2 separate regions of the Homo sapiens genome follow, and region 2 is linked to region 1. The links are contacts of gene promoters, found by promoter capture Hi-C in human tissues and cell types (Jung and others, 2019). All regions are on one chromosome and are shown on one strand. The core of a region is centred on a gene start or on the middle of the fragment in contact, and the rest is flanking DNA. Distances in the headings are between cores, read along the strand shown.

The links. The method cuts DNA at HindIII sites, captures the fragments that hold promoters and counts their contacts. A contact is called where the count stands out against the background at its distance.
Region 2: a fragment that was not itself captured here is called in contact with the fragment with the promoter of SULT1E1 in region 1 in 1 of the 25 tissues and cell types used here (small bowel).

Annotation. Positions count from the first base shown.
Region 1 is chr4:69,858,103-69,862,431 of GRCh38, reverse strand. It overlaps SULT1E1 (sulfotransferase family 1E member 1), which reads left to right and starts at 2,287. Exons shown (of 8, transcript NM_005420.3): 1 at 2,287-2,383. The HindIII fragment of the contact is 19,346 bases long and covers 1-4,329 here.
Region 2 is chr4:69,809,854-69,814,182 of GRCh38, reverse strand. It overlaps the pseudogene SULT1D1P. Among named protein-coding and RNA genes, the nearest start is that of SULT1E1, 48 kb to the left of the region's middle. The HindIII fragment of the contact is 5,108 bases long and covers 1-4,329 here.

The DNA of each region.
Region 1 (4,329 bases), core at 1,038-3,537:
ATCTCGGCTCACTGCAACCTCTGCGTCCTGGGTTCAAGAGATTCTCCTGCCTCAGCTTCCCAAGTAATGGGGATTACAGGTTAACTTTGACAAAGGCTCAGTTAAACATGCAACTTATTTTCACATTATTAATATTAAAATCTTGCTATTTATAAAAAAGACTCTATAGGACTTTTAATCTTGATCCAGAGAAAGTGTGTGCTACAGAAAAAGCCCAATAGTCACAAAAAAGCCACAGTAATTGTTTTGGGAACTCTGTCACACAGAAGTGCCAGCTTTACACTTGTTTTCAGTGTTTCAGAGTATAACAGCAGTATGTCTGTCTGCATATCTGCCCACATTCTTTTTGTTTGACATTATTATAATACTTAATAAATGTACATATTTTCAAGATATCTGCCCAAATTCTGAGGGTCAAGATAAACATTAAAAACCGGTCCTTATCTGAGATCCATTTTTTTTTTTGACATTGACTCAAACATTTTGTAACTCAGTCTGTACCCATTACTCATGGAGAAGAATGAGGTTTCAGGGCCATCTTGCCTGTTGTTTTGTTTTTATCAGTAAGTGAATTCTTAACATTAGAAAGATTTTCTAAGAATAAATGTGTATTGAACATCTGTGGTTGCCAGAATTACATGAGTTAGGAGCATTTGTGACATCCCTGCAACCAATTGTTTACAAGTGAAAAACAGACAGATGTATTGAGGTTAAATCTGTTTATATTAGCTTGTGCTCATTTTCTGATTTTTTTGGACTAAAAAATGTTTTCGCTAAACAATAAAGGAAACTTCATAGATTCTTGTCATTAAAAAAATAAAGTGAAGCTATGCTGCAAGGTTAAAAATTATATTCTGTATTAAATTTGTATATATATACTTAATTTTTAAAGGTACATAGTAGGCATATGAATGAGTAAATTTGTACATTTAATGATTGTTTTTCAACACATATTTTATTTAACTCAAATAATATGACAGACTGCATAAAACAAAGTAAAATGAAAATCTAAATTTGGGTCCCTGGTTACTCCTTTTCTACCTTAATTTTCTATTATGAAAAGCCCCATTTTTCAGAAACCACTTAACACCTCTTATTTTGCATAAGGCTAGATATTGCTTTCTATAACAACTATAGCCCCCTTAACTTCTTATATTTCTTGAATAAATCAGCCACTTTTATTCAGTAAATACATATTCAATGCCTAGCCTACTAGATGCCAGAAAAAAATGCTAATTACAGAGTAAGACCCTGTTTTCAAGCTATTTATAATTTAAAAAGTACTCTGGACAAGCAAACATTGATTTACAACACAGTAAAATAAATACTAGTTAGGAGAAAGTTCAAAGTTTAAAAGTCACTAAGAGAAACATAGAGTCTTGTAAGAGTGAGCCTCTCAAAGGAAATGTAATCTAACAGTAATTAATAGAGAAATAAGAAATAACAGGGTTGGAGGTGTTGATGGGGTGGAGCAAAGGATAATTTTCTTAAGTGACAGAGTAGGTGCAGAAAAATGAAAAGAAAGGTAATGCATTTGTGGATTCCACAAACCCTTGGCCATTTATTTTTCTAATTCTCTTGTGTAAATTCCAAGTGTTGGTAGCTATCATTACCTGAAAAATTCACAGTATGCTATTTTGTGGTTGGGAGCAGAGAGAAGTCAGGTTTCTAAAATAATAATCGAAAGGTGAGTGATGTTTACATTCTTTCTTTAGCTGTCATCTGCTTTTTAAAATTTTCAGGTCTGCTTAAGAGTTAAAGGCAAAGAGTTTAAATAGGTGTTTTCCAATTGACATGTTAAGATACAACCCAATGACTTCTTTGGCAGGTCTTAATAAACTGAGCTAGGTCTGATTGAGGGTCCTTGCTGTCTTATTTCTTTCCTCATTGGCTTCTCTTTCTTCACTCCAATAAGTTTATTCTTTTGAAAGTTAACCATAGTCATGCTATTATTTGTCAATGAGTGAATAAGGGATTCTCCCTTCCCAGTCTCTCTTCCCAGGCCTCTTCTTTCTCATCTTTTCCTTTTCTCCCTCCTTCTTCCCCAACCCCTGACGGCAGACTTGGGAATTTGAATATGAGCCAAATAATTAAAAAAATAACAGCAGGATATTTCTACATCTCCATGAATGAACATGACTCTGTGTGGTTACTGCAGCTGCAGGTATGCATTTACATCTACATTAACTATTGCATCATGGACTTCATGAAGCCAAGCCCCCAAATTAATCTCCACCTCCTTCTCTGGCATTCAGGATATAAACTCACCAGAAACATTCCAAATGCAGAAGTGGTTCTCATCTTTTTTTGCAGCTTAAGATCTGCCTTGGTATTTGAAGAGATATAAACTAGATCAATTTCTTTCACAGGATCAACTAAACAGGTTGTACTTTTTTATTATTAATATCAATACTTAGATTTTAGATATATAAAATATAGAATGAAAATTATGTATTACAAAGCTCTTAAAAATAAAATATACAAAGACCAAAGTCTTGATTGATACTTTAGTTAATTAATGATGTGAAGCATTTAAAACCTTTTAAAATAATTTGTTGTTAAAAATAATATTTTACATTTATGTAGTATTTTGTTGCTTATTGCTTTAATGTAAAATTACAGTACCATTGCTATCTTAAAAGTGCTGAATGCTGGACGTGTTCTCCATTTTACCAATGAGAAAATAAAGCAAGCAGGGTAGAAGGAGGTAGAATAGAGATTGACTTTTAGTTTTGTGTTCCTGTGATAAGGGGTCTTGCAAATAGGGGCATTACTTTCATGTAAGAAACTTCAGATAAATATGACAGAAATCCAAAGTCCTTGGTAAATAATTAATATGTAGGTCATTGACATATATTGCCTTTTAAATCTGTGAATCCTTACTTAGTAGAAACTAGAGAGCTTCTTGATCTAATAATTGAACTTAACAAATATTTCTGAACATCTACTTTGTGTCATAGTGCTGGAGATTGGGATAGAAACATGTACAAAAGTCACTTTGCCCTCATACAGGTAAATCTAAGAAAGTAGGGACTATGAGAACCCTATGTATCTATATCCACCATAGTATTCTAGCACTGACTACAGGGCCTAGGAAAAGGGTAGGCATTCACATAGGGAGTATTTGCTGGATAAAAGGCAGGTTGGAAGATGCAGGAGGGGAGTATGCAGAAAGAAAGGAAGAAAGAGAGGAAGGAGAGCGGGAAGGAAAAACACTTTCTGAGTTTAATTGAATTTATAAGTCACAATTTTAACAACTTTTTTGATGTTTATTTCTGAACAACTGACCTACATACTCAGAATAAAAAATTGACAATTTCTAACTGAAATAGATCTTTTGAGAAAATGGGGATCACATAGGAAGTAAATCCATACATTGTAATATGAGACAATTTACCAAAAGGAATAGAATGAGAAAAGATATTTTATTACATGCCACCTACTTTGCCTCTCAGACCAAAATTGACTATGAAGGAGTAGCTGGAAGTCAGCCAACCACTTAATGATAAATCTACCACTCCCAGCTGACTATAAGCCAATTCTTATAAACTTGGCTGAACACCAAGAAAGTAATTCACATGAGTAAGCAAACCAATAGGCAGGACAAATCGTGGTGCATTTTATACACATTTCTTCTAGTGAAAGATCTATTTTCTGAGACTAAGGAGAAGGCTTGGGGAACAAGTGATTTATTGATAAGGCTAATATGCATTTTGGAAATAGAAATCTCATATTTTTGGTGACATTACATCTGATATGATGTAGAGGAAGGTTTTTTAAAAGTTGAGATTGTCCTAAGGGCTGGGGCAATTTATGTGTGTAGAAGAACTTATCAGGCAGGTTTTTGGGCAAATGTGAACAGGAGGAAGATCTAGAAAGGCTAATGTCAGGAAAGACAAAATGTGTTGGGAAGCTATGTCAGAAACTTGAAATAAGCTAAGTTTGGCAGTTGAAAAAACAAGATACTAAAGGAATTTGAAAGCTAATGAAAGAAAGTATGCCTAATTAAAAATTCTGTTAGTAACCTTGAACATGAAATAGATTGTCATGGGATCAGGAGATGAATTAGGAAATGATAACCATCTTGCTTAACCTTATCATTTTTAGCCAAGTCATTCAATGGGAGTATCCACTACCTTATTGATCGAATGGGGAAAAAAGTAATTTTAAAGGTCACAGAGGAATCCTTTATACTCTCAAGATTCCATTTCTTTGATATAACCATTACAGTGTAATTAATTTCATCTTTTCTTTTAAATACATTCACCAAGCATTTGGTTTATTTAAAAAAATGATACATATTCAGGAAGTCAAAAATCTCTGACTTAG
Region 2 (4,329 bases), core at 580-3,079, 48 kb after region 1:
CTGTGTTAGCAATACCTGCCTGACACAATGGCACTGCAATTAAGGCACTTTTCACCTGACTCCAAAGTTCAGTAAATTTATTATGTATCTCAGAAAATTTTGCCTGAGGAAATGCTATAAAAGTAATTTTGCCAATAAAAAGTGCTAGCCTTATGTAATAAATGAACAGTACAAAATCCATAGTATTAAAATCTAATGCTGCTGGAGCTAGAGTGATGATAATACTACTAAAATATTAACCTATTGTTTGATTTGATTGATACTACACTTTGGTCAATATCTAGTTTCCTCAAAATGGACAATGAGCAGCGTGTCTTCAGAAGGGAGTTAGTGGATGTTCAGGGGATTCCCCTTTTCTAGAGCATTGCTGAAGAGTGGTTTCAAGTAGAATTGTTTGAGGCCTGACCAGATGATATTCTGATCTCTACCTATCCCAAATCTGGAAGACATTTTCATTTGTTTGTACTCAATGATTTGATAGTGATCCATATGTGTAAACCCACTGATTTACAGATTATTAGTCAGGTCTAACTTGAAATTATTAAACATTTTTTGAGGAAACCCTGTGGTGGTTGCTGTGAGAGTGTCATCTTAAGTTAGACTAATTTACTTCCTATTCTGAAAGGTTACCAATTGAATAAAGAATATATCTGAGAGAAAAATTAATGTCGTTTTCTTGTTTTTCTTTTTAAATTCAAATAGAAATTATTAAAACTGTATATATATATGTTTTGGATACATTAGAATATGTATATTCCATTATATACACACACATATCAGATATATTGGAATATACATATTCTATACATTTTGATATTTAAATATTTTGTTTGTATATTTAAACAACTGCTGATTTCAGTATACAATCTCAGAAAAACTTAAGATGACTTATTAAGAATCAACAATTTTTATTTCTCCATATCTGCTATGACAGAATCTTCTGATTTACCCAGTGATAGTCGTGCAGAGATATATCACAGATGAGGCTCTTTCTAGCCTTTTGTTCAGTTAAATTAATTTAGTCCACAATTAATCAACTGTCCCATAATTACCAAACCCCCTAAAGGCAAATTTCCTTTATATTCCTATTTAATTTCTTAAAGAAATACATTTCAAGTAAACATATTGTGTACTGATTATTTTATATTATGTATATCAAAATTATCAAAAATATCAAAATTATTTTAAAGTAATGTGTAACAAGTCTCAGGAGGAAAGCCCTGAATTTGAGGGATGTTAATCTGCCAAAATTGTGAACCTGTATGAGAACAAAGAGCTTCTTCTAGGAAGTAAACAATGCACAATACAGATTTTGGTACATGTAAAAAACTAACTTGTTTTGACAAAGCATCTTTATTTTCTTACTACTTACCTTGCTTTCTGAGTAGTTCACCAAACCCAAATTGTTTAAGACTAAAACCGCATTTCATTTCATTGTTGAAATAAGTGTTTAGAGAAGGGAAGTCAGTTACTGAGAATGTACACGTCCTTTTGTTTTTGCTATTTTTGGATATATTCAAAAGAAGAAAACCATTAAGATAATCTTTGAAAGGTACCATTATACAAATAGTTCATCTACAAGATACTCATTGAAGCTAAACTTTTTCTAGTATAGTAAAAGCTAAAATGGCTACACATAGTTTATTTTTTATTTTTATTTTATTTTTCTCTGTGAACTCTGCAGAGAAGTATACACATAGTTTAACATTCTTTTTCGTAGGTTTTTGTCATTGTTTCCTTTACACATGGGTGTGAACATGTCTTAAAGTTTTAAAATTATTAATATATTAGTGCCTTATTAACATTGTTACAAAAGGTACAAGTTAACTATCTCCTTAGGTGAGCTAAACCATGTGCTATTTTTTTTCTCTACAAAGTCCACAGACTTTTTCATTACAAAGCATACAAAACAGCTAAATTGGTATTTCTTTCAGTCAGACTTCAAGGGCCGCAATTTAAAACTTTCCCCAATAAGAGATAAAATGAGTTACATTGTACTTTGAAATTTAGGTCTCTCTCCTTCTCTCTCTTTTAACTCATGAATCGTTGCTTAAGCCTAAACCAGATCAAGCAGCAAAATGTTCAACGTTGGTACTGATTTGGCTCATCTGTTTTTTAGTACTAAATCTGTGATAGGATTGGGGAGATTGCCTAGTACAGGTACTCATGATTTGGGGACAAGAAGGAGGAAGAGTTGACCACAAGAAAAGACCAAAAAGGGGGCCTAATGTGCTGTAGTATCTGGGTGCAATCCAAATGTGTATCTACATATAGATCATTATTTAAAAATGTTGTCGTGTGCATGGCTTAATCAAATGATTAACTAATTAACTTAATATTTTAGTTACTGCCTCCTATTATTTAATTTATCATTATACCTTTGGTAAAGAGGAAGAAAATGGGAACAGTTAAGGAGATACTTATTTCCTATGTCTTATATTTCTTTTTTTTTAGCAGTGCCTCAATAATCTGACTGTTGAATGTACAATTAAGTATACCATAGGCACATATGATTTAGATACATTTCTCAAATAACTGGTGAGACACAATATCATAATGGTCAGAGTATCTTGATCCACTCTACTCAATCAGAATCTATTGTCTTTTTTTTGTGAGTGGCACACTGGTCACTGCATGGAAAATTGCCAAGATTTTTTCTTTTCCTTCTTTACCCTTTCACCAAATCTAGAACATTTTTACCTGAAATGCAATTCAATTCTAATAAACTTTTTGATATTAGTAGGAAATTTACAAACTGATAGACATTGAAGTTGGCCACTTCCTCCACCCATTTTACCCCAGAGAGTACGTTATCATTACTCACAACCTGTCTGTTTAATACTTCCTCTTTTACCTCCTTTTTGGGTCTTATTTGTATGATATTTTAATCACATTTTACACACACACAAAAATTATATGTATGTTCAAGATAAATAAGAGCCTGGACAACACAGTGAGGCCCCTTTCCTACAAACAATTAAAAAGTTTACCTGGGAGTGATGGTGCACAACTTAGTCCCAACTACTCAGAAAGCTGAGATGGGAGAATTGCTTGAGTCCAGGAGGCCAAGGCTACAGTGAGCCATGATTCTGCCACTGCACTCCAGCCTGGGCAACAGAGTGAGACCCTATGTCAAAAAACAAAAACAAAAGATAGATAAGGATGGTTCCTAGGAAAGGGGAGAAGAAAGGGAGTGGAAATAAAGAATACATTTTTGTTTTAGATATTGTTACACAACTTCTCTACAGCCACTGATTATCTTATACTCTTTTTGACAGAAAAGTTTAAAGTTTTGTTAATATTTTCTTTCCTTAGGGATGACCTGGATCAGTGAAATATTGGATTTGATCTTTAACAATGGGGATGCAGAGAAATGTAAACGTGATGCAATATACAAGCGAGTGACTTTCATGGAACTTATAATTCCTGGACTCACAAATGGTATTTTTTTAAATGTCTCTTTTCACTACAAGAGTAAATTCCCCCCCCTTTTTTTTTAAGATATCTGGAGGAGTCATGACAGAAAATGACAAGCTTGGACAATTGAATCATAAGCATCTGTAATAGAGGAGTCAGAATCTGACTGTGCCAATAATCATATTATATTCTTCCTCCATCCAAGGGTAATATATGCATAAGAGAAGATTTTAATGTATGTAGCATGTTTTCTTTCAAAGACAGATGGAAGTTTTAAATGTTTAATTATTAGGTAATCATTATATAGACAAACTTCAATATTTGATTCAATATAGAATCATGTATACTACAAGTTATCTCATATTTACAAACTCAAGGAAAAGAGATATGGATATACGATCTTGCATTATTAAATTAAAAAAATAGCCATAAGCTTCATGGCCTAGTTCAATCTTAGAATTCAAATATGGGAGAGCTGGAAAGGGATTTTGAAATCCTCTAGTGCAATTTTCTCATATCATAAATGATAAACAGAAGAATATAAATGAAGAAAAATTCTAGACATTATGATTCTTGACCTGTAGCTCTTTCTACCTCATCAAGGTGTTCTATCTGAGGATTTTATAGCCACTTATGAAGATGATAGTCTTATGTTGCTCATAGGCATAAAAGAGTCTTCTCAGAGTTTATCTTTTTTAATCTCAGTGTAGATTTTAAGAGTATATGAAGTCATATAGCCATTTTAAGCCATATAGTGGGGTTTAGAAAATCTTAGATTATATTGTAAATCATATTTATAATTCTATGTTTACATGGTAGTTTGTTAATTTTTTGTGATTGTAGGTGTTGAGCAGTTGCAAAACATGCAGTCTCCTCAATTAGTGAAAACACACCTGCCTGTTCAACTTCTCC